7 separate regions of the Homo sapiens genome follow, and all the other regions are linked to region 5. Evidence: promoter capture Hi-C in 16 types of primary human blood cells and fetal thymus (Javierre and others, 2016). All regions are on one chromosome and are shown on one strand. The core of a region is centred on a gene start or on the middle of the fragment in contact, and the rest is flanking DNA. Distances in the headings are between cores, read along the strand shown.

Region 1 (3,611 bases), core at 242-2,741, 870 kb before region 5:
CCACCACCCCAAGAGTCTATTTTTGTTTTTAAGAAACTTTCTCCTAGGAGTCCCTCCCACAAGGCTGCTCAGCACAGTCCAGGCTCAGTCAAGCACTTCGAGTACAAAACAACTTGAGTGCGTGGAGATCTCACTGTGTGAGCTTTGTAGGGATTAGGTAAATCACAGGTGCACCCTTACCTGAACCAGCCAGCAGCTTATTCATTAATCAAGTGCTTAACAAGCTGTTGCTCCAAGTTCCCCTCTCAGCCTGGCAGACTGGTGTCTTTGGACTGATTCCCAGTTTGGGGCCCCCTCAGCTCCCCTTTTCCACTCTGCCAAAACTTCTCCCTGCAGGTCCTGTCCTATTCTCTTCTCTGCTATATTCCCCATGCAGAGTTGGCCTCTTGGGTTTCTCCTATGTTTCTCCAGCTTTCTGACTCCTGCCCAGAGGCTGCTCTTAAGACTCAGGTTGTGATCTGAACCAGTTTCTCCACAAGGAGTCCCAGGTCTGTCCTCTCTGAACCATTGTCTTTCTTTGCAAAGCTTTTCTACTTGGATCCTATATCCCCTTCCCGCACCTGCCCATGGTCCAAATGCGGCACAGAACTCACCAAAACCAGCTCTACATGTCATTCCCATCTGCTCAAGCCTTAATACTGACTTCTTCCAATAGAATAAGCCCTGCATCCAAACAATCTAATGCTCACATTTTCATTTTACCAGGGAGGAAACAGGCTTGGAGAAGTAACTTGCCTGTGAGCCTATAAAAGTGGCAAAGCTGGCCGGGTGTGGTGGCTCACGCTTGTAATCTCAGTACTTTGAGAGGCCAGGGTGGGAGGATTGCTTGAGCCCGGGAGTTGGAGACCAGTTTGGGCAACAAAATGAGACTTCACTACAAATAATTTTTTGAAAATTAGCTGGGTGTGGCAATGCACCTATGGTCCCAGCTACACGGGAGGCTGAGGTGGGAGAATCACTTCAGCTCAGGCAGTCCAGGCAATATTGAGCTGTGATCACGCCACTGCACTCCAGCCTGGGTGACAGAGCAACACCCGATCTCAAAAAAAAAAAAAAAAAAAAAAAAAAAAAAAGAGGTGGGGGGCAAAGCCACAATGCAAGGGTTACCTGAATTTGGTGGGCTGCCTATTGCACGGGGTAGGGTATATTCAGAGCCTCGTCTACTTTCTGCTGAGCTGAAGTCCTACTGTTGGGTACCATTTTCCCCAGGACCCCACGGCATTCAGATCTTGCCGGCTTCCTCCAGCCACTGCTAGAAGAACATTAGCAGCGAATCATGGAATGTCAGGGATTCAAAGTAGAGGCCCTCTGGTTACATCCTTTTGTTTTAAACATCACATATAAGCCCAGGGCCCTCTGTTTACTTTTGATTTTACCCAAATAGAACCAACTAGGGAGCAGATGTGTGCAGCTCAGCAGGAATCCAGCTTTGGGGAAATACTGAGGTCTCCAGACTTGGGACTGGCTTTGTGTGAAATGCTTGGTTAGGGGAAAGGGGCTCCCTGCTGAACAAGACTGGAAAAACATCTCCCAAAGGCACCTTGTGGCATCTGTAAGCTGTGGGTTGCAGGGGTGCTCATAAAACAAAACTCAAGATAGAAAATACACATATTTCAGACCCAGCTCTGTCCCCTTGAAGCCAGCACTAACAGCCAGCTTGACCCTTTTTCCTGACAATCCCTTACAATGTGGGAGCCAGGGTTCCCACAGGGCCTGAAGAGGACATGCCCGGGGCTCCTATAGCCTTAGAGAGCTGCTCACACGATCTGGGGCTGGATGAGCACCATCAGGCTTATGGAGAGAGACTAGGCCAAAAGTTCAGGCCAGTTCTGTTGAAAGAGAGAACACTTTAAAAAAAAAAATTGTGTTTCTTCAGAATTTGCTCAGGATTATCAGAAAAGAGAGAAGGAAAAAAAAAAACTTTCATCCTCTACAGTTGAGCAGGGAAGGGATGGGGAAAGACTCATTTCCTAATGACAGCCTTTTGTAACTGAAGATCTAAATAAGGTAAAAAATAAAAATGCTTCTCCATTTCTACAAGAAGTGGCCAGCCAGGAAAGGGACTTCTTGTCTAACCCTCCTGTGAAAATGAGGCTCATTCAGTCAGATTTCAACCCAGCCTTCTCCACTTTCTGCCTCCATCACCCTTCCGGGGGCAGAATTTAGCAGTGGTCTGCCACCCCGAGCAGCCGCTCCCACAGGAACTGCCTCATTAAGCTCTGTGACCAGTAACTCCCAACTTAGGAAAAGCTCAAGAAGGACCACTCTGCTTTGTTTGCACTTTTCCAAGAACCCTTACTACATAAAACGTTCTAAACTTGGGAACACTAACTTTTGCACTGTTTCCCACCGAGCCACAGAGCTCGCACCAGCATCACGCTCTCCCTTTGCCAGGATCTGAGCTCGCTGGAGGAAAATACAAGTTCCTCTTTCAGCTTCTTTCCTTCACTTCTGGAGACAAGCTTTCCAGCTACCAAAACAGAACGTTTCCCAGGTTTTCCTCCCACACCTATGAACTTTGTTCCTTGATTAAATCCTAGTTTCCCCTCTAAACAGAACTGGACTATGTCCAACCAATGTCTTCAGTTTCTGCAAACATTAACTCTGATGTTTTTTTTCAAGAGGTTTGTGTTCGGCTTTTGAGTAGGTTCCGGAGGCTGCCAGTGGAAAGTCTGAGGGGGGTATCAGCAGCATTTTACCCCATCCCCCGCATCCCCTCTGGCCAGCAGGACAGGAAAAGGAAGCCTGTTTGCGTGCACGAGCCTGCTGACCGGCCTTTGCCATGCGCTGTGCTTTCCTTTGTAGACACAGAGGGACTGCGAGGGAGGATGAGCAACTCCTTCCTAAGCTGGTAGGGTACATGGCTCCAAGAAACGCTCCTGGTCTGGAGTGGAATGTAGGACCGTTCTCCTCTCACAGCCAGCCACACAAAGCTACCTGTCTTCGGACATCTTTCCCCGACGCTTGAGCAGGCTGCAGGGAAAGGGGCCCGCTTACCCGGAGGAAGGAAACCCTCCGCAGACCCTCCAGGAAGGCAGGCCTGGGGCGCCCCTTCCCCGGGGAGCCTGGAAACCCACAAGGCAGGAGCCATTAGAGGGCAGCACGTGCCTGTCTCATAACACTGAGCAGACTCGTCTTTTTTTTTTCTTCTTCCAATTACAGGGTGTTTCAAAAAGCAAAAGTACCGTGGCTCCAGCGTCAGCAGAAAAACAAGTTAGAAAGACAGGCAGGGGAGGGGGCGATCCCTCCAACTCCAAAGCTGTGCCAGGGAGACACCGCTCTTGGGGAAGTTGGGCTGCAGCCCCCGCACGTGCTAGGAAGATAAGTGAAGGTCCCAACACATCCTGTCCCCTTAGAGCCCCTGGGGCCCAGCAGCCGGGCCCAGCAGCCCGACCCAGCGCCTAGAGCCCATTCGCAGACAGCGCGCTGAGGCGGCTTGGGCGCCATGCCCTTTGGGTTACTCAGCTCTTCAGCCTCCTGGAACGCTAGGACAAAGGAGTGCCTTGGTGCTGGCAGAAGCCGGGGGGCACAGCTGGGTTTTACAAGGAAGGACGAAATCTCATCTCAGCAATCGGGATAGATCAACCGTTGCCCGTCTGAGGTGACCCAAT
Region 2 (3,762 bases), core at 415-2,914, 940 kb before region 5:
TAGAACCCCTTCCTTCAAATACAACAGCTCCTCTTAGGTTCATAATGTAGTAATGAAAAATTCTTGTGTTGTTCAATACATTTGTAGGTGTGTGTCTAAATGCACATAGAGATTTTAAAGAAAAGTACATGAGGAGGAAGAGAACGATGAAACACAACGAGATATAAATTTGAGCCGGTCTTTACTCATAATTAATTCTCTAACATTTGGACTGCTTTGGTTATATTCCTAACACTATTTCTAAAATTACAGCTGCTCAATATTTGAGGAGTGTGACTCATGGGAGCGTCTAGAATCATGGAATCACACCCAAGGCACCATCCAGAGCACAGCCTGGTTCTCTTGAATACAATTTCAGTGTTGGGGACTCCACTCTCTTTGGAAGCTCTGCTCATTGCTAGAAAGTTGCTCCCTTCTAACAAAAGCCACCTTTCATGCAGCTTCTCTCCGGTGGTCTCACCTACTCCTTCCCTCTTGCTTTATACAGATTAAACTCTTTCCTCCTTTGGGTGACAGGCAGTTCAAAGATGTGCCAGCAGTCTCCTGGCCTCCTCTGCCACAGTCCCTCTGCTCCGCTTGCGACCCTCCAACCACCCCAGAGCATTTTCCTCTCCAGATTCGTGTCTACAAACACATCACCGCTCCGTGGCTGCTGGGGTGCAGGACTGGGGTGCTGGCAGCAAACAAAACCAGAATGGCTCTTCTACAGTCCTCATAGGACCTGGCTGCCAGGTGGCTTCTGCCAAGCTGACTGCAAAGGAAGGGAGACCTCCTTACAGTGTTGCTGCCAGCAAGGATCCCCAAAGGCAGCCATTCTTTCTGTGATGGTGCATTTTGGTTTTGTGCTGGTGAACTGTGCTCCCCGGGGTCTTCTCTGTCTGAGCATACAAACCTTTCTCCTTCCAGTTGCTCAGGCCAGGAGCCTTGGAGTCACCTTTAACCCATTTCTTTCTCTCCCACCCACTTGCGTTTCCTCAGCGGATCCTATTGGCTGTTCTTTCAAAATCTCTCTGGCACCCAAAGCCTTCCCCCACCTCCACCTCTACTCCAAGTCATCTTCATCTCTCACCTGGATTCCTGCAATCGCCTCCCATCTGGGCTTTTCAGTGAGGCAGCCAGAGGGATCTTACCGACACAGGCGCCAGGGCAGGCCACCCTCTCCTGACCAGAGTCCCTTTCAGAGTGGAAGCTGATGTCCCCACCATGGCCTTTGAGGCCCTAAGAGTCTGGCCTCCTGTGTTGCCCTTACCTCACCCCCCCCATCCCCCCACTCCCTGCAGCCCCACTGGCCTCCTTCTGCCCCTCTAAGGTGGGGGCCCCAGCCCATAGCAGCACTGCACCTTCTTGCATCTGCTTCAGGTCTTTGCCTAAATGTCGTCGTCTCAGCAGGGCCTCCTTTCACCACCCTGCTCAAAATTGCAGACCAGCACTTGCCTTGACCCATCCAGTGCTTCCATCCACTCCCTTCCTGCATGAGTTTTCTCCATGACATGAGCACCTGACACACCATACATAGTCACATATCATAAGGGTGGTCTGTCTCTCCCAGAGATGCTGTCAGCTCCACAGGGCAGGGGTTGGCTTGTCTTGTTCTACGTTATCCACAATGTCCAGAACAGCACCCAGCACATAAAAGTTTCTCTGTAAATATTTGTTAAATGGTTAATTGTACTGTGGGTCACACGTCTAATACTTGACCTGTGCCCCTTGCAGGGAGAATACCAGGTTTTGCTGGAACTGTACACTGAAAAACGGTCCACCGTGGCCTGTGCCAATGCTACTATCATGTGCTCCTGACTGTGGCCTGTAGCAAAAATCACAGCCAGCTGCATCTCGTGGGACCTCCAAGCTCCTCTGACTGAACCTACTGTGGGAGGAGAAGCAGCTGATGACAGAGAGAGGCTCTACAAAGAAGCGCCCCCAAAGAGTGCAGCTGCTAATTTTAGTCCCAGGACCAGACATCCCCAGACTCCACAGATGTAATGAAGTCCCCGAATGTATCTGTTTCTAAGGAGCCTCTTGGCAGTCCTTAAGCAGTCTTGAGGGTCCATCCTTTTTCTCTAATTGGTCGCCTCCCACCAGACTCACCTGCTTTTCAACTTTTTAGGAGTGCTTCCTCACAGTTACCAAGAATAAAGAAAGCTGGCCACCATTGTTCATTGTGGTTTGTTCAAAGAATCTTACTACAATGCTGTAGTTAAAAAGTCATTTCCTCCAGATACAGTGCCGGATGCTGGTGCAGCATAAGCAGTTCCAAGAAATTCAGGAGGGTGACAGCCTGGCTAAAATTAGAACACTGGGAAAATGTGCCATTGCTTCTCCTGGGCAGGCCCCCACCCTTGGACCATGAGGGCCGAGAAGCTGATGCAACCTCACGAATAGGGACATCATACTCTCGCTTATCCAAACATTCATTTCACCTTCATCCCTCAAAGCATGATTACACTTGACCTCAGCATATGCTGGCGTTCATTACTGCATTCATTAATGAATGCAAGGAATAACTCCTGAACACTTAATGTGTATCAGGTGCTGTGTTCTTAAGTTGTCTTCTACGATGCTCTCCGTAAATGAGCATGTTGCCCATGCTACTTCCAGAGCCATTTCTGCGGCCCCGTCTTCTCTCCTGGGATGCACTGATCGCATGGTGGGCTGCATAGCCCCTTCACCATCCGACGCCCCTGTCCTTCCAGTGTCCCTGCTGGCCCTCTTGCTCCTGCTAAGGGGCTGGAGTAAGGTGGGTGAGTTGACACTATCATTCATAAAAATGCCACTATATTAGAGATTAAAAGAGAAAAAAATTCCATAGTTTAAAAAACAGTAGTTGCTATTAATCACTGTTTATACATCAGTAAACCACCTAGAATAGCAGGTCAAAAATGCCTGTCAAACTTTAAAACCAGCATCTGAGGTTTTCTGGGTTATGAGCAGGCAAAATTGCAGCAGCGTCCTTGCCTAGGCCCATAATGCTCGAGGGAAAAGACGTGCGTGGTCATACTAGGCTCAGGAGCAAACCTCTGAACGTACATGGGGGTGACGGTGTTACGCACAAGAATAGCAAATGATTCCTGCCCCTGGCCATTCCCTCTAGCTTGAGACATTCACCTCTCTCCCTTTTCAGTAACCATCACCACAAGTAGTAAAGTCCCTGGCTAGACTCTGTGTACGCACATGTTCTAACAGTACAAGACAGCTGTCACAGCCTTCCAAAGACACAGGTGGAACTCAGCCAGTCCCTTCCCAATCCCTTTGCCCTCTTCTTTAAATTGACTGTGTGGGTGCGTGTGCGTGAGAGAGAGAGGGAGGGAGAGAGAAAGTTTCAGATGCTATAGGTTTGTGTTAAACTGGAATTTCCATATATGGAGACTATCCTAGTCATAGCTGAATATACAAGTACACAGCCGTTTCACTAAGGACATGATTTGAGAGAAAAAAAAATGTTTCTTTGTCCCAGAATATGTCTTTTCTTAGTGTCCTGTCATGGGCCTTAAATTTCACCATTAGTTTTATTCCAGCAAGTTGAAAACATATTTCAATGTTCAGGAGTCTCCTCTTGGAATACGAACAGCCCTGCTAGGAGAAACGCTAGAGTCTGTCATTATTTAACACTCTGGCAGGATGTAGTAACTAAGATGACTTTGAAAGGGCCAGCCCAGGAAGCAGGGTTGTCAGGGGAGGTGGGTGACCCCAAGCCGAGCCCTCTCAGGCTAGCCATTGTGTGGTTACTGGCTGGGGTGGGGTCAAAGTGCCCAGACAATCTAT
Region 3 (3,408 bases), core at 459-2,958, 980 kb before region 5:
TTTAAAATGCAACATTTAATTGTTGAAATGAAAAAATAATGGTTATGTTAAAACATTGTTTTTAAAATAGCTGAAGGGAGAACTGATGGACTGGATGAAAGGTCTAGAGCTATGACTCAAAATCTACCACAGAGAAATAAAACGAAAAATATGGAGCTACAGCTATAGAAGAAAATAGGGGAAAAGGCAATTTCTGAAGAAAAATGCTGAAAATTTTCCAGAACTGCAAAAGACATGCATTTCAGCTTCAATAAATGCAATAACTCTTCAATGTTTATTAGCCAGAGATATCAGTGCATTACATTGGGGGTCTCTCCACCAGGCTACCCACAACATAGCAACGTGCTTCCCACAGTTTCCCAGAGATTCGTAAAAGAAATTTCACAATTAGACCAACCAGGATAAAACCACAAACCACCAAAGGAAAAAAAAAAATGGTAAAAGTTGCAAGAGAAATTACCTAAAAGAAGTTATAGACTGACAGCTGGCTCCAGCAATACTCTCATAGAAAAGAGAAAATAACAATCAACGTAGAACCTAGAATTCTATATACAGTATAGCTACAATTCTACATACAGTATAGTTAAGTCATTCAATAGTAAGTAAAAGACTTTGGAGAAAAAAAAATCTAGAGTGTTTGCCACCGAGACTCTCACTAAAAGAACTTTAAAGGGTACTTGAAATGACCCCAGAAGTCAGTTTTGAGATATAAAATGGAATGACAAGCAAAGTAGCAACTTTATCAATGAATGTAATGATGATAATGATGAATTTGGAACAAGAATGTGTTAGATTTCTATTTCTGCATAACAAATACCCTAAAATTTGGCAGTTAAAAACAATAAGCATTATCACCTCACCTCACAGTTTTTTTCCTCTGGGGCAGGAATTTGGGTGTGGTTTAGTTGGGGGTCTCTGGGAAAAGGTGATGAAGTAGTCAATTCTAGGCTTGGCTGGGGGAGCAGCTGCTTCCAAACTCATGTGAGTACATCGCAATGAACAGACCTCCAAAGATCCGCTTTCATGCCCACTCACAGGGCTGTTACTGGAGTTCAAGTCTTCAATAGCTATTAGCCAGAGATCAGTGCCTTGCCATGGGGGGTCTCCCCACAACGCTACCCCATAACATGGCAACGTGCTTCCCACGGAGTGGGAGAAAGCGCATGACAGCTGTCATAGTCTCATGACATTGCAGCCTCATCTCAGAAGCAACATTCCAATGTTTTCGCTATGTTCTACTGTGTCTGGAATTGATGGGTTCTTCATCTCACGGACTTAAAGAATGAAGCCGCGGAACCTCGCGGTGAGTGTTACAGTTCTTAAAAGGCAGTGTGTCCAGAACTTATTCTTTCTGATGCTGGGATGTGTTCAGTTTCTTCCTTTTGGTGGGGTTCGTGGTCTCGCTGGCTGACTTTCCCGGTGAATGTTACAGCTCTTAAGGGGGCATCTGGAGCTCTTCGTTTCTCGCGGTGGGTTCTTAGTCTCGCTGGCTTCAGGAATGAAGCTGCAGACCTTCACAGTATGGGTTATAACTCATAAAAGAAGCGTGGACCCAAAGAGCGACCACCAGCAAAATTTACTGCGAAAAGCAAAAGAACAAAACTTCCACAGCACGTAATACTACTCAAGCAGGTTACTGCTGCTAGCGCGGGCAGCCTGCTTTTATTCTCATCTGGCCCCACCCACATCCTGCTGATTGGTCCATTTTACAGAGAAGGCCGAGTGGTCCATTTTGACAGGGCACTGATTGGTGCGTTTACAATCCCTGAGCTAGACACAAAGGCTCTCCACCTCCCCACTAGATTAGCTAGATACAGAGTGTGGACGCAAAGGTTCTCCAAGGCCCCACCAGAGTAGCTAAACACAGAGTGTCGATTGGTGCATTCACAAACCCTGAGCTAGACACAGGGTGCTGATTGGTGTATTTACAATCCCTTAGGTAGACATAAAGGTTCTCCAAGTCCCCCCCAGACTCAGGATCCCAGCTGGCTTCACCCACTGGATCCTGCACCTGGGCGGCAGGTGGAGCTGCCTGCCAGTCCCACACCGCGCACCCGCACTCCTCAGCCCTTGGGTGGTCGATGGGACCGGGGCGCCGTGTAGCAGGGGGCGGCGCTCGTCGGGGAGGCTTGGGCGGCACAGGAGCCCACGGAGCGGGGGGAGGCTCAGGCATGGCGGGCTGCAGGTCCCTAGCCCTGCCACGCGGGGAGGAAGCTAAGGCCCGGCGAGAAATTGAGCACAGCAGCTACTGGCCCAGGTGCTAAGCCCCTCACTACCCGGGGCTTGCGGGCGGACCTGCAGCACTTGCGGGGCCCGCTGAGCCCACGCCCACCCGGAACTCGCGCTGGCCCGCAAGCGCCGCGCGCAGCCCGGGTTCCCGCTTACGCCTCTCCCTCCACACCACCCCGCAAGCTGAGGGAGCGGGCTCCGGCCTTGGCCAGCCCAGAAAGGGGCTCCCACAGTGCAACGGCAGGCTGAAGGGCACCTCAAGCGTGGACAGAGTGGGCACCGAGGCCGAGGAGGCGCTGAGAGCGAGTGAGGGCTGTGAGGGCTGCCAGCATGCTGTCACCTCTCACTACCGCTTAGAAGCAAGTCACTGGGCTACTCCAGAGGAGGGGATTGCACGGGACGTGAACACTAGGAGGGGGTCCCTGGGGCCATGTTGGAGGCTGCCTAGTGCAAAACGGCAGATAACAATAGCACACAGAGGAGGGGCTGGTGAGTGAACATTAAAGCATTCTCATGTCCTTGACCTGGTCTTTTTCAGGGAGGAGAGTAAAGACAATGTTTATTTATGCAAGACGAAAAAGTTCTAGAAATCTGTGGCCCAACAATGTGAATATACTGAAGACTTCCAAACTGTACTCTTGAAAATGGTTAAGATGGGAAATTCACTGTCATGTGTTTTTTGCCACAATAAAAACAAATATATACATACTTATATACCAAGGTTTTAAAAATAGGAAAAAGAGAAGTTTATTTTTAAGATTTATTAAGATATTCGTGTTAAATTTTCAAAGGTAAGTACTACCTGACTAGAAATAAAGTATATGATTTCCAAACTATAAACAAAACAATAAAAACAAAAGAAAAAATTAAAATATTCCAATTAAATCCAAAAGAATGCTGGAAAGAAGGGAGGAAAGGCATAAAGAAAGAAAACCCAAAATAGGATAAAATAATTATTAAAATATCAGAGGCTTGGCTGGGCACGGTGGCTCATGCCTGTAATCCCAGCACTTTGGGAGGCTGAGGCAGGTAGATCACCTGAGGTCAGTTGTTCAAGATCAGCCTGGCCAACATGGCGAAACCCCGTCTCTACAAAAAATACAAAAATTAGCTGGGCGTAGTGGCGGGTGCCTGTAATCCCAGCTACTCGGGAGGTTGAGGCAGGAGAATCGCTTGAAC
Region 4 (3,405 bases), core at 828-3,327, 960 kb before region 5:
CAATTCAGTTTAGCAGCTCAAAAGGCTGACATTTGCCTTATTTGAAGGTTGGACAGCTCTGCAGCTATTTATCTGCTTTATTGCAATGGGAGTGATGACTGCATAGGCAAGCTGAGAAGCTGGCATTGGGGAAATTGCCAGAAAACTTCATATAGTGTAAAATATCATATAGTGTAAAATGATCAGAAAAGTGATATACAAATGCTGCATGAACAAATAATTATGTAAACTATGTAAGTCAGAGAAACTAAAATCTTAAAGTCAGAGGCTTTTTGGATAATTAAATTGTTTTAACCCACCCACAAACCTACTGCAGGAATGATTCTATTCCAAAGAAATGGTTAATAGTAAGACCAGAAGGGGAAAAAAGAACACCAGGGAGAACTAAAGTCAATCCAAATCCAAGCACAAGCTGCTGTTGACATGTTACACATAAAAAGGCTTGCTCTGGGGCTTGCAGGTCCTTCTTAGCAGAGCGGTGAGAAAACTTAATGTCCACTGTGGGTGGCACATTGTGGTGTCACTGGCAGTTGAGCTGTTTGGTATCATTGCCATGGCATTACTATGCATTCCTCTGCAAACTGCATCTCGCTGGCTTTTCTCCAAGCCAAATAAAACACAAAATGGGTCAGGCTTAGTGAGACTGAAATGTTGCCTCCTTTCCCTCTGCCTTGTCCTCAGCTAGCTTTAAGGCAAGCATCACATTGGATTCAAAGACCAGCTGATGCTCTTTCAGTATGATTACTTATGCTGTGATTGACAATGTGGAGGAAATAGCGTATATGGCCAACGATAGGGCATTGACTAAGTAGGTCATTATTCAGCCAAACAAAGGTACAGTATGCTGTGATTTTAAAATGATGCCGTAGATTACTAAATTACATGAAAATATACTTGTAAGAATATTATGTGACAAAGAAGCATGCTATAAAAGTGTAGTCACTGTTGAATCCTATTGTATAAAATGTGTGTAAGTGTATACACAAAAAAACTCTGAAAGAGTACACACTTTAGTGCTAAGAGTACTTATCTCTGCAGATCTTTATTTTTGTCTTTTTTGGAAATCTCGCTTGCTTTTATGATAAATTTGCAAGGTTACTCTTTTAAGTGTTACTTTATCATTACAGGAAAGAATAGAGAGAATAAATTCTCTTCCCCTGGGAATAAATTTAAGAGTTTTCAAAGAGAATTACAGCCTATGTAATATCCAGCGATATTTGGACTCGAATAGAAAGTTCTGAATCAAAGAGTTGCGTAGAATATCAAGGGATGATCTAACAGCCATCCTCTTGCCTGGGATACCCACAGCCCCATTTACTCAGGCTGTGGGCTCACTGAGAAGGAGACAACATTGGCCACTGTTTTACTTTCTTCTCTGTTAAAGCTGCCTTGGTCCTTCTGTCTCCTCTGATAGTATCGAGTCATTCAGATGTATTTGCTTTAGTTGATTGCCATGCTTTCAAACAGGTTCCATAAGCTACACATCCACTTTTAAGACTAAATTGAGCTTCATTGAATGTCCTTAATGACCACAACTAATTCCTAGCCCAAAGGAGGGAAGCTGCAGCCAACTCCCTCAATCCTCAAGAACAACAATGCCGATAGAACCCCTGTGTGATCCGGGAGCTTTGGTCTGGTCTGCAAACACCAAGCGCGCCGTTACCCCAGTGGGTCTCCATCTTGGTCGCACATTAACTGCTCCTGTGCTTTCTGAAGCAATGACCACAAGCCACAGGTCGCGACTGAGCCCTGAAATGTAGCCAGTCTGAATAGAGATGTGCTGTAAGTGTAAAGTACAGACTCAGTTTCAAAGCTTTAGTCTTAGAAAAAGAATGTAAAATATCTCTATCATTGTTCCACTGGTTATGTGTTGAAATGTTAATATTTGGAATATACTGAGTTAAGTAGAATTTATCATTAATATATTATTTTAATCATTTATCAATGATAAGATATTAATATTATATTAAAATTAATTTCAACTTTTAAAATGTGGCTCCTAGAAAACATAAAATTATATGTGTGACTCTCTTTAATGTTTTTACTGGCAGCGCTGCATTATTATCTCCCTTTATAATTTTGAAGCTCCCAACATCCAGGCCATACCCCAGACCAATGATATCAGAATCTCTAGGAGTGAGAGCCAAGCCAGGTGGTGACCAGAAGTGCTCTGTGTTGAGAATATGGGAGGAAAAAACTGTTTTTTCCTACATACACCCTCATCTTATCAGATGAGGAAATTGAGTCTAACTTACCCAAGGTCACAAAGCCAGCGGGGGGTGGAACTGGGTTTCTGTCCAGCTCCAAACCCCTCTGCTGTATATCTTCTGTAAACATAAAGAAAGCTTTGCTAGAGAAGAAGTAAACTCATTTCAGCCCTCCACTAAGACCGGAAAAAGATTTAAAGGGCATAACAAAATTATAGAAATCAAAGGATCATCTTTGGGCATAACCAGCCATTATTATAAGGCAGTGGTTCTCAAAGTGTGGTCCTCAGACCAGCAACATCAGCATCATCTAGGAAATTATTAGAAATGGCAGATTCTTGGTCCCTACCCAGACGTACTGAATCAGAAGCTCTGGGGTTGGGGCTTAGTGATCTGTATTTTAACAAGCCTTTTGGGCCATGTGTTGGCAAACTTTCTTCTGGAAAGGGAAGGATAGTAAACATTTTAGGTTTTGCAGACCATATGGTCTCTGTGGCAATTGCTCAACCCTTCCCTTGCAGAGATAATATGAAAATGAGTGGACATGGCTGTGTGCCCAGATTACATGAAGTGAGGTATGTCTATATCTGCTGCATGTATTTTATAATTGATTTGGCTTTGTTTAATTTATGGACACTGAAATTTAAATTTCATTTAATTCTTACATGTGGTGAAGTATTATTCTTCTTTTGACTGATCAGTCCTGCTCTAAGTGGTTCTGTGGCATGTTAACTTTTGTGAACCACTGCTAGAAGGTAAGTCAGAATCCAGGGCTCTTAGCCAGAGTTACTGAGCACAGGTATGCGGGGGCTGTCACCAGGTGGACACTTGACCTGAGCTGCAGCATAAATTCAGATCCAGGACACCAAGGACAATGCCACACCTGTGCTTTGACTCTGCTTTATAAGACCTGTGCCAAAAAATTAGATTTGGGGCAAAAGGGACTTAACAGATAGGCTGGTCAGAGTGGCAGCTGGCAGGAGGAAGAGCACCTTAGGAAAAAGCCAGAGAGCAGGCCTGGAGGTCTCCTTCCCTCCCCACAGCTGCCATGGACAGTCTGGAGGGCCATTACATTTCTCTATTTCTCAATTACTGCATCTATCAAATGAGAGTGGCCATAATTCATTATTGGGTAAGAGTGGAGACTAAATAAGATATGTGATGTGTCTGACGCGTTAGAAATCACAGCACTGAGTCC
Region 5 (3,684 bases), core at 741-3,240:
TACAAACAGGGAAATATACACTAGAACTTTTTATCAGGAGTCATGTCACATCAGAAATAGTCTCACATTTTTCCAGACCAACCAGCTAACTATGGAAATGCAAATAAAAAGTAAGGATACCGGGCTGGGCGCGGTGGCTCACGTCTGTAATCCCAGCACTTTGGGAGGCTGAGGCGAGCAGATCACAAGGTCAGGAGTTCGAGACCAGCCTGGCCAATATGGTGAAACCCCATCTCTATTAAAAATAGAAAAATTAGCAGGGTGTGGTGGCATGTGCCTGTAGTCCCAGCTACTCGGGAGGCTGTGGCAGAAGAATTGCTTGAACCCGGGAGATGGAGGTTGCAGTGAGCTGAGATTGCGCCACTGCACTCCAGCCTGGGTGGCAGAGCCAGACTCCGTCTCAAAAAAAAAAAAAAAAAGATACTGTAGGCAGAGTATGAATACATTAACTTCATACTCCTCTCTTACCAGCTTCTAGCCACTTCTGTATTTTATGGTGCTGCCTATTTATAGTCTTATGACTATTTTTTTAAGTGAGAACCGTGCTATTTGCCTTTAGAAATAATTGTTCACCAAAAAATTCCCCCACAGTTCCTTCACATGGGTAAACAAAGTGCAAAAGGAAACCAAGGTTTGACACTTGGGCTTGAAAAAATTTTAAAAAGTAATATAAAATGGGTTAGATTCTAGGAGTTGAAACCATTTGGGGAAACTACAAGGGCTAATTCCAGGTGTTGGGTAGGAAATGTACAAAGTTAAGCTTGTGTTATCAAAGCAAGAAAGCATTCAAGGACTAATAGGGATACATGAAAGACACAGATGGCTTAATGTGGCTTCCACTGGCCACATTTGGGACAATTTGAGCATCAACAAGAATTATGATGTTAAAGGAGTATATTATATTGAATTAAAAAAAAACCTTAAATCAATAACTTTAAAAACACCTTGATTCCCATAGTGAAGCAAACACTAAAATGGAGGTGTGGAAAGAATGCCAGTTAATAAACATAAAAGGCATGATACTATTGCGGAATCACTTATAACTCCTAATGTAACAACAGATTCAGTGAAGGACTGTATCAAGGAGTTGGGGAACAGGTTATTCTTATGGACTCAAGGTATAATCCACAGATTGCTTACCAATTCCTAAGAGGAAAATGTACTATTAGAATGAAGAGATGTAGCCACCACCTTTACCAAGTGATCAAATTTAGCATTACTAATATAACTGAGTTATGCGTCCCCGTGAGTTGGCAACATCTCTTAGGTAGTATTGCAAAAGTGCTCAAACTGAATCTAATCATGAGGGAAACAAAATCTGACAAATCCAGAATGAGAGAGATTCTACAAGACAACTGGCCTAGGCTCATCACAACATGTAATGATTTAATAATTTAAAAAGGAGGGTGAAGGAGGCTGATCTGGATTAAAAGAGACAATAACTAATTATAGCTTATGAGTTGAAAAAATAAAACTGCTATAGAAATAATTTTGGGGACAATGGGGAAATTTGAATATGAACTGTATAATAAATGATTTTATGGACTTACTAATTTTCTTAGGTTTGATCATGTATTGCGGTTACACAGGAAAATGTTCTTATTCTTAGAACATGCATGCTAACATATTTGGGGGTGAAAAATCTGCAACTTACTTTCAAAGAATTCAGCAAAAATCATTGGGTGGGGCTGTGAATGTGGAGAGAAGAGACGGAGAGAAATCAAACCTGGCAAAATGTTAACAATGAGCTGAAGGACGGCTAAACGAAAGCTCATTGTACTATTTTTAAAACTTTTCTGTAGCTATAAGCCGTTTTTTCTGAGGAAGTCGAGGAGGGCGAATATCTTTCTGGAAAGGCCAGAGCAAATGCACGCAAGAGCTGAGAAAAGATTGGAAAACGCCTCTCAAAATAACAGTCCCGCCCTTCCCGGGACTCTTCCCTATAGGCTGTTCAAGTCACGTGGCGACTGTGGCCCCGCCCACAGCTCCCAGAGGCCTGCGCGTGCGGTCTGCAGTTCGGCCGCTTCCTCTTGGCGGGTGGGCTGCAGCTATGGAGGGCGAGCCTCCACCTGTGGAGGAGCGGCGGCGGCTGCAGGAGGAGCTGAACGAGTTCGTGGAGAGCGGCTGCCGGACGTTGGAGGAGGTGACCGCGTCCCTGGGCTGGGACCTAGATAGTCTGGATCCCGGGGAAGAGGAGGCGGCGGAGGTGAGGAGCGCGGCCGCGGGGCCCTTTCGGGGACTATCGGCCCGGGGTCTTCTCTGGAAGAAGGGAGATCCGCACTGGCAGCCGCGGAGGGAAGGGCGAGGAGTCCTCGTCCGTGTGCAGAGCCGCGATGGGCGCCTGGGACCCGAGGGGCGCCGGGGGCCCTGGAGCAACCCTGACGTCCCTGGGTTCCGGGCTGGGGCGCGCGAGGAACTCCCGAAGGCTCCACATCGACCTCCAGTGCGGCGCTCCTCCCGCGCAACTTCGAGTTTAAAGAAAACCGGGGGCCGGGCGCGGTGGCGCACGCCTGTAATCCTAGCACTTTGAGAGGCCAAGGCGGGAGGATCCCTTGAGCCCAGGAGTTCCAGACTAGCCTGGGCAACATGGTGAAACCTCTTCTCTACCAAAAGTACAAAAATTAGCCGGGTGTGGTGGTGTGAGCCTGTGGCCCCAGCTATTTGGGAGGCTGGGGTGGAAGGATAGCTTGAGCCCAGGAGGTCGAGGCTGCAGTGAGCCGAGATCGCTCCACTGCATTCCAGCCTGGGCGACAGAGCAAGACCCTGTCTCAAAAAACAAACAAACAAAATCCAGGAAGGTGTGTTGAGTGAGGAGGGAATGGCAGATTTGGTATTTATTTAGAAAATAAGTGAACGTGTCTCAGAGCGCTGCAGAGGGATTGGCGGTTTGCATTGTCATCTGTCATACGGATTCCGCAGTTGCACCAGATTCGGTGTCAGGAGAGCTGGGAGTTTGCCAGTTCGCCTTTCTGTGCCTTAAAATTGGACACTTCTGACTGGGACAGCACCAATTCTAGGATTATTAAAGGTTGTCACCAAGAGGTGGTAACTGGCAACTCCTGTGGACATTAGAATTGCTTTTTTAAAAATGTAGGCAAGTGTATTTAGAGTGAACATTCGTGATTTTTGTTTTTTTGTGGGGTATTTTCGGTGGAATGAGAGGAAGGGAAGTGCTCCAATGTGGGGTAATTCATTATCTTTACTATTACTTCTGGGTTTACCATGCTGTGATAATTTCTCCTGGGTTTAAGTTACATGACTGATTCCTCAGAGGCATTTAAAATATATTTGATTTCTGTATATACCATTCATTGTTTATTGTATTAAAAGCACAGAGGAAATTAAAAAATCTTTAATATTCATTTAGAGGGGTATTTGAAGCTGGGAATTCCACTGAGTGGGGCTTACCAGACCCTTCCATACATTGTTTACTCAGCATTGCGGTAACATTGGATTCCTTGTATTAACGTTTAAATAGCACTTTGTTTGCCACTTACATTACTTCATTTAATACTCAAAATAACCCTATGAGGTAGGTATCTTTGGCCACATTTTATAGACGAGGAAAGGAACACAGAAGTGATAATTTGTCGAAGGATACACTGCTAGTAAATGGCAGTTAGGATTTCCGCCGGTGTTTTAGTACTGAAATTTAGTGAACAACAGTCCTAGTTGTCATCTGTT
Region 6 (3,729 bases), core at 36-2,535, 880 kb before region 5:
AGCTTTTGACTTCCAAAGTCTTATTAGAACTAGCTAGGTGGCCCCTAGATTTATGTATCCACTTTTGTCAAAAGCAGGCTACGGAGATGGAGCCTAGTAAGGAAAATAAAGGTAAAGTATTATGGCATTCACTCATTAGGGACAAGATGTCCTCTGGTGTACGTCACAAAGCTTTCACCTGCAAGTGACACTCAGCTCAAACCACCTTTAAAAACAAGGATATTCTAATCTCAGATAAGAAGTCCAAGCAAGTTCCAAGGAGATTAAAACCAGTGGTTCAGTGTTGTTGTCAGGAACATAAATTCCTTCAAGCTCTGGGCTCTACCATCCTCAGAACATTGGTTTTGGCCTTAGGCAGCTCATCCCATGTTTCAAGATCCCTCAGCCCTCCTGGTTTCATAACCACATCGGCAGAGACCACTTCATGGTGACCAACCTGTCATGCTGCACAAGGCCTTGTGCTTAGAAGGACCCACACTTGGCTTAGTGCTCTACCATCACCGTCTTAACATCCTTAGTCTTATCTGTGAACTTGTGTTTTACGAGTGAAATCCTATGGGGACAGTGGAGATGCATGTGAGCAGAGGAGATGTACGCAGTATATATGTCCTCCTTTCCTGCTGTCCTATGTGCAGGTCATGTTGGGGATCCCCATAAGCACAGAATTCCAGGGACCCACGAAGCATGGGAGTCAGTGAGACAGACTCAAAGCCAGCACATTAAGCCCACAACCAAGTAAGTGGCAGCACTGACAGCCCTAAGAGGCCATGCTTTTTGTCCAAATCAGAACTTGCTCTGAACACAAAGAAAATAGAGCTCTAAGAAAACACAGAAGATCAAGCAACCCTACTCTATTCTTTTGAACACGTGTTACTTCCTCGTATTAGACAACTACTTCCACTGAAAATGATGACATAGGTTGGGTATGGTGGCTCATGCTTATAATCCCAGCACTTTGGGAGGCTAAGGTGGGCAGATCACCTAACGTCAGGAGTTCGAGACCAGCCTGGCCAACGCGGTGAAACCCCGTCTCTCCCAAAAAATACAAAAGTTAGCCGGGCGTGGTGGTGCACGCCTGTAATCCCAGCTACTCAGGAGCTGAGGCAGGAGAATCACTTGAACTCAGGAGGCGGAGGTCACAGTGAGCCAAGATTGCGCCACTGCACTCCAGTCTGGACAAGAGCAAAACTCCATAACAAAAAAAAAAAAAAAAAAAAAAAAAAGAAAATGACATAGAAGGAAAGACATAAGTGGTTGGCTAATACACCTTAGTGAACTATTTCAGAAGAAAATTCAGCACAATTCCAGCCTATAACTCCAAAAGCCTCAATTTCTTGCCTTGTTCCTGTCCCTTGATTTTTGTCCCCTCTTCTTTCATCGACAGAGCAGAAGGTCAACTGCCTCAGGTGTGTGCAGTCACTTACTGGCCCTGGAAATGTACATCCAGAACAGAATATTATCTTCCTGGCAGCCGTCCCATTCAGCCTGTGCATGGAGCTGTCCCAAGACCTGAGCCTTCTTAGTTTGGTGATGCTTCACTATGGCTTCAACTCTCCAACTTCTGCCCTCCAAGACCATAGTGATAAGAAAACAAAGATCAACTACCCCCGAGCTGGGAGGAGGACTCCTTTTTTCTCTGTACAGCCTTTTATATGTTTAACTTGCTTACCATGTAATATGGATAACCTATGAAAAAGATTTCACGTGTATACCTTTTTAAATCACTTACTCTACTTGTTTGTGAAGACAAAAATAAATTTAAAAAATGCCACAGACTTCTTGCAAGTTAAAGAAAAAAATTCAGCTTCCTGTGTAATAAGAAATATTGTAAGTCACACTCGTAGTCCGAGCTATTTGGGAAATTGTGGTGGGAGGAACACTTGAGCCCAGGAGTTCGAGACTGCAGTGAGCTATAATGGTGCCCACTGCACTCCCATCTGGGCAACAGAGCAAGGAATCATCTCTAAAAAATAATAAAAATAAAAATAATTTTAAAGATTAAAAAATATATTTAAAAGAAATATCACAAGTGAACTATAATTCATCCCAAAAGAGAATATGGATCTTTTCAAAGAGCAACATCAAAATGTCCAAGGCTAGTCATCATTTCTTTCTTGAGAACATTCATAAGCCACTGCTCACCCCTGGACTCCATTTTAAAAACAGATGCCACAGAGTTCTTCACTGCTTAGCCCATTCTCACATCACCAGTCCCCAAGCACGGACCTCACCCCTGGCCAGCCTTCCGGCATGCCAGGCCTCCTCCTCCCTCAAGCCCATGCGGAAGCAGGGAAGTGGGTCACACAGGGAGCCCATGCTATGGGTGGACGTACCCTGCCGACGAAAGTGGAAGGGCAGAGGTGGAGTGGTTTCTTCTTCCTTATTCCTTTATATTCTGTTAAGCTTTAGCAACTCTCTCAACTGACTCATGCATGGACTTGTTCTAGAAGAAACTGTTAGAGGCAGCAGAGGTCTGAAGGTGCTTTAGTTCCACCCCTAGATGAGAGTGACAGTCCCAGACACCCAGCAAGTTGGCATTAGAACCAGAGCTAGAACCCAGAGCTTGTCCCCAGCCAAGTTCTCTTTCATCTGCAATATCTGATTTCCCAGAATCATCCTTCATGGTGTGTTCTGGACCAATTTTTTGTCCAAAAACTAGACAAAAAGATAACTGTTTCATTTCTATTTCTACACTACAGCTCATACAATTTAAAGGAAGGACACTGCTGTAAGAACCATCCTCCATCACCAAAGAAAACTGGTTGAGTTCTTTTTATTTATTAAATAAGACTGGAAAGGGTCATTGTCTTGATCAGCGTTTCTATGCCTTGACACTGCTGACATTTTTGGTGGGATCATTCTTTGATGTGGGGACCATCCTATGCACTGCAAGATGTGTAGCAGCATCGCTGGCCTCCACCCACGAGGCACTGGTAGCATCTCCTCCCCTCCACTTGTGACAATCAAAAATGTCTTCTTTGGACATTGCCAATTGTCCCCTGAGGGGCAAGATGCCCCGGTTAAGAGTCACTGATCTACGGGAAACTCGATTATTTGGTTGTCATTGAAAATACTCAGCAAGCAAAAAATTGTTCACATTAGGGCTTTATAGACAAATAAATTGGAAAACTGAATCCAGGGCATTCCTCAACAGCCAGTGCCCAGAATAGCCTGAAAGGGGTCCTGGGGAGATAGGTGGGGGCTTCCGTAAACCCGAGGCATGGCAGTCCATGTGTATTATTGACCTTTCCAGGTGAAGGCAAAAGGATATTTGAGTCAGGGTTGAAAGCATACTGATAAAAGCAGAACATGGTCGGGCATGGTGGCTTATGCCTGTAATCCCAAGCACTTTGGGAGGCTGAGGCGGGTAGATCACCTGAGGTCAGGAGTTTGAGACCAGCCCAGCCAACAAGGTGAAACCCCATCTCTACTAAAAATAAAAAAAAAAAAAAAAAAAAAAAACAACCTAGCCTGCTGTGGTGGTATGTGCCTGTAATCCCAGCTACTCAGGAGGCTGAGGCAGGAAAGTTGCTTGAACCTGGGAGGTGGAGGTTGCAGTGAGCCAAGATCATGCCACTGCACTCCAGCCTGGGCAACAGAGCAAGACTCCATCTCAAAAAAAAAAAAAAATTTTTTTAGCAGAACATAAGTTGATGACTGTGAGATGAATAGTGTTGGGTGGAGAGAAGCCAGAATGGTGTTGGGGTCCTTAGAGAAAGCCTGGTATTG
Region 7 (3,569 bases), core at 955-3,454, 910 kb before region 5:
GAGGAACATCAATGGTTTCCTTCTGTTGCCCTGGCTAACTAAGTGGAACACCCTCTTAGCAACAAAAAGGGGAGATTTGCTAGCACCTTCACTATATGCAGCAAATATCATCTCCCAGTAATAGTCCTAGGTAATTAAACTTTTATTTTTCCCATGATTTATCGTCTGGGAAATACTAACTCTGTTAAACTTCGGACTTTACATATAAAATGTAAAATTTTTTTCAGTTTGGATAAAGTTCTGTTATAAGTAACTGAAAATCAAGCAGAGACATACACAAGTTAGAGGTTTATTTCTCTCTCCAGTAAACCTGGGAAGTTCATGGTGGCCCAGTTCACTAGGACTTGGACTTCTTTTATTTTGTAACTCCATCATCCTCACCTGTGGCTTCTGCCTTTTAGTCCAAAATGGCTGTTTCAGATCTAGTGATATCATCACATTCCAGCCAGCAAGAAAGAAAAGAAGGCAAGAAAGTGATAGCCCTCTTCTTTTAAGGACCCTTCTGGAAGTTGTATATACAACTTGTACATATTGGCCAGTAGGCCACCTGAGAAGACTGAGGGCCTCAGTTCTTTCCTAGCTGTTGGCTGGAGGTTGCACACAGTTTCTCATTACATGGCTTTTTCAATATGGCAGATTGCTTTATGAAAACAATATTCAGCAAGACCCAAGCTTCAAGGGGGGATGAGAAATGTAATATTTGCTCTCAGTTTCTGTGGTAGCCATGAAATTATGCCTCTCAGATGTCCGACTAAGGAAACGTAATTGTCTGAAGGCCCCAGCTGCTGTCCTCTGGAAAGGCTGAGGGAGGAGGGTTGCTTGACTTAGGAAGTCAAGGCTGCAGTGAGTTATGATCGCGCCACTGCACTCCATCCAACCTGCTTGACAGAGCAAGACCCCATCTCTAAATAAATTTTTAAAAATACAATCCGCCAGGCACAGTGGCTCACTCCTGTAATCCCAGCACTTTGGGAGGCCGAGGCAGGCGGATCATGAGGTCAGGAGATAGAGACCATCCTGACCAACATGGTGAAACCCTGTCTCTAGTAAAAATACAAAAATTAGCTGGGTATGGTGGCACACGCTTGTAGTCCCAGCTATTCGGGAGGCAGAGGCAGGAGAATCACTTGAACCCGGGAGGAAAATATTGCAAGGAGCAGAGATCGCGCCACTGCACTCCAGCCTGGCGACAGGGCAAGACTCTGTCTCAAAAACAAACAAACGAAAAACCAATCTACTCCAAAAATACTATTTAAATAACAGAAAAAGCCTGTTTCTATTTCTGTCAATGTATGTGTATTGCATGTATGTTACAAATAATCCTTTTCCTAACTTAGAACTTATATTTCTACAGGGTGAGGGCTTATGTATAAAACCAATATAAAATAATGAAGAGGAGAGATACCAAATCTTACATCTTTTCCTTGTACAACCTGAAGACATGCCTCAGACCCAATAATTTTTTATATTGCAATTTTCATTTTAATTCCTTAATTTTGTACTAATTTTCCAAAATGTTTGGTAGATTTCCCTCAATATGCTAAGAGGTCAGCTTAAGAGAATGGGCAGGGGGTCTTGGAAACTCAGATAAGGGCCTTGACACTTATTTTGGGCAAAGCTAACACTGAGTCACAGGGTTGTTCCAATGAATTATTTTCCCTGTTGCCTCAGATGAGAAAAATTCACTCTGATTTTATTTCTTATTCTTGTGTCTGCTTTATCATCACAGTTAATATAAAATATGCCAATAAATACTCTATCTAAACAATAAGTCTTCTCATTTCCTTTTTGCGCCACACAGAACTTGCAGAAAATGGGGAAAACGGGGCTACCTTTTCTTAAACCAGTTTGCCCAGGAAGCCCATGCTGTGTAGTTCACAATTTCAGCCAGGAGGTGGCGGTAGTAACCAATGGCAAAATCCTGAGACACTGCCTCTATCAGCTTCTCATTGTCCTGCGGACGCTTCCTGGATCTAATCTGATGCTTATGAAAGTGATTTCCTTCTTTCGAAAACACCAGGCCCAAACAAAAACTAACTTCATCCTGCAGATAAAAACTGTATGTGCCTTACAAGTTGTCAGACTCCTCCAGACCTTCAATCAATATTTTCCCAGCAGCAAAATGCAGCTGCACATTTTAGGAAGCAGAGTGGGCAAATTCCTTCTGCGGAAGCCCATGAACCATCAGGCCTCCCCCTCAGGGTGGCAGGAAGGTGTGGAAAGGGGGACTAAGCAATCCAAGCTGCTAGACAATCCGAGCTCCAGGGAGGCCAAGCACATTCCCCCAGTTTGTGCAGGAAACAGCAGGGAACTGAAAAAAGGGTTCTGTTGAGATGAGACTGATGTTCCCAAGTCCTGAGTCCTCAAACCGAATCACTTTCCGGCAGCAACACCTGTCTTTAGCATGCAAACATCGGTCTCATAGAGTCTTCCCTGAAAGATGTTTAATGATCATGTCATTACTGTCACTCTTTTTTTTTTTTTTGAGAGTGAGTTTTGCTCTTGTTGCCCAGACTGGAGTGCAATGGAGCGATATCAGCTCACCCCAACTTCTGCCTCCCAGGTTCAAGCGATTCTCCTGCCTCAGCCTCCCGGGTAGCTGGGGTTACAGGCATGTGCCACCACGCCTGGCTAATTTTGTATTTTTAGTAGAGACGGGGTTTCTCCATGTTGGTCAGGCTGGTCTCAAACTCCCAACTTCAGGTGATCTGCCTGCCTCGGCCTCCCAAAGTGCTGGGATTACAGGCGTGAGCCACTGCGCCCAGCCACTGCCACCTTTTAAACTACAGAAGATGAGTGTGCCTGCTCAGACAATGAAGGACTCTGAGGGATTTGGAGAGCCACAAGGAGTCCAGACCTTAACCTGAGGGCAACAGCACCATTAAAAGTTTCTAAGACAAGGAGGAACACGGCTCCACCAATTTACAATGGCTAAGAAGAAAATAAGCTCGTCGGAAGGCAGGAAGTTGAGTCAATTTTCTATCCATGAATCTCAGCATTAGGTTGTTTTTATTGAACTTCTGATAGTACATCTTGAAGAATGCTAAGGAAAAGTCTAGAAAGGTGCTCTTAGTCTCCTTTCTCTACTGCAGAAGCCCTTTGTGATCTCCAGGGGAAGCAGCCCCCGTTTCCATATGGTCCCAGGGAGACGAACGACGGCAGAACATTTCATGTGCTGTGGAGGCACCTAGCTTCAGAATGTGAAAAAGTAACCAGAGCTCTCAAACCTCCCTTTCCTCATGTGTTAAATAGGGATAATAGTCCTTACGTCAGGGTTGTTGGGAGAGTGAAATGAGATCACATATGTGAGTCACTGACCTACAGTAAGTGTTTGGTAAACAGTAGTTATCATGGGCGGAGGCCTGACCTGGGAAACGGTCGGCAGGCACAGTAAACTCACCAGCAGATGCTAAAGGGAGCCCCGAGGCTCATCATACCCACCACATGTACACGCATACACACATACACACACACGCACTCATGCACACACACAAGCAGGCACAGAGCATCCCTCCTACATCTCACACATGCCAGGTCTTCCGGGAGTCACTTCTGTGCTTCAGCCAAGA

What was found. Contacts are between HindIII fragments. The CHiCAGO score rates a contact against its expected background, and 5 or more counts as called.
Region 1: a contact is called between a fragment that was not itself captured here and the fragment with the promoter of SNRNP48 in region 5, in 8 of 17 cell types (fetal thymus, total B cells, naive B cells and 5 more). The highest score is 9.3, in fetal thymus.
Region 2: a fragment that was not itself captured here is called in contact with the fragment with the promoter of SNRNP48 in region 5 in 5 of 17 cell types (naive B cells, non-activated CD4 T cells, total B cells and 2 more); the score reaches 7.4 in naive B cells.
Region 3: a fragment that was not itself captured here is called in contact with the fragment with the promoter of SNRNP48 in region 5 in 1 of 17 cell types (total B cells); the score reaches 5.3 in total B cells.
Region 4: a fragment that was not itself captured here is called in contact with the fragment with the promoter of SNRNP48 in region 5 in 1 of 17 cell types (naive B cells); the score reaches 5.5 in naive B cells.
Region 6: a contact is called between a fragment that was not itself captured here and the fragment with the promoter of SNRNP48 in region 5, in 2 of 17 cell types (fetal thymus and total B cells). The highest score is 9.5, in fetal thymus.
Region 7: a contact is called between a fragment that was not itself captured here and the fragment with the promoter of SNRNP48 in region 5, in 7 of 17 cell types (fetal thymus, naive CD8 T cells, total B cells and 4 more). The highest score is 8.3, in fetal thymus.

Annotation. Positions count from the first base shown.
Region 1 is chr6:6,721,619-6,725,229 of GRCh38, forward strand. The region is part of intron 2 of LOC101928004 (a long non-coding RNA gene); the gene reads right to left. LOC101928047 (a long non-coding RNA gene) reads left to right here. Exons shown (of 6, transcript XR_001743949.2): 5 at 3,163-3,611. Among named protein-coding and RNA genes, the nearest start is that of LY86-AS1, 100 kb to the left of the region's middle. RefSeq lists enhancers at 3,165-3,611, 3,175-3,234. The HindIII fragment of the contact is 1,937 bases long and covers 524-2,460 here.
Region 2 is chr6:6,652,831-6,656,592 of GRCh38, forward strand. LY86 (lymphocyte antigen 86) reads left to right here. Exons shown (of 5, transcript NM_004271.4): 5 at 1,714-2,152. The coding sequence ends at 1,797. Among named protein-coding and RNA genes, the nearest start is that of LY86-AS1, 32 kb to the left of the region's middle. RefSeq lists a silencer at 1,027-1,217. The HindIII fragment of the contact is 4,773 bases long and covers 1-3,762 here.
Region 3 is chr6:6,604,415-6,607,822 of GRCh38, forward strand. The region is part of intron 1 of LY86 (lymphocyte antigen 86); the gene reads left to right. All of the region lies in intron 1 of LY86-AS1 (LY86 antisense RNA 1), which reads right to left. Among named protein-coding and RNA genes, the nearest start is that of LY86-AS1, 17 kb to the right of the region's middle. The HindIII fragment of the contact is 6,589 bases long and covers 1-3,408 here.
Region 4 is chr6:6,629,051-6,632,455 of GRCh38, forward strand. All of the region lies in intron 3 of LY86 (lymphocyte antigen 86), which reads left to right. Among named protein-coding and RNA genes, the nearest start is that of LY86-AS1, 7.9 kb to the left of the region's middle. The HindIII fragment of the contact is 532 bases long and covers 1,812-2,343 here.
Region 5 is chr6:7,588,208-7,591,891 of GRCh38, forward strand. SNRNP48 (small nuclear ribonucleoprotein U11/U12 subunit 48) reads left to right here and starts at 1,991. Exons shown (of 9, transcript NM_152551.4): 1 at 1,991-2,206. The coding sequence starts at 2,051. RefSeq lists enhancers at 1,748-2,487, 2,066-2,215. The HindIII fragment of the contact is 5,411 bases long and covers 759-3,684 here.
Region 6 is chr6:6,704,986-6,708,714 of GRCh38, forward strand. All of the region lies in intron 4 of LOC101928004 (a long non-coding RNA gene), which reads right to left. Among named protein-coding and RNA genes, the nearest start is that of LY86-AS1, 84 kb to the left of the region's middle. The HindIII fragment of the contact is 2,232 bases long and covers 170-2,401 here.
Region 7 is chr6:6,675,109-6,678,677 of GRCh38, forward strand. No RefSeq gene overlaps it. Among named protein-coding and RNA genes, the nearest start is that of LY86-AS1, 54 kb to the left of the region's middle. The HindIII fragment of the contact is 3,069 bases long and covers 671-3,569 here.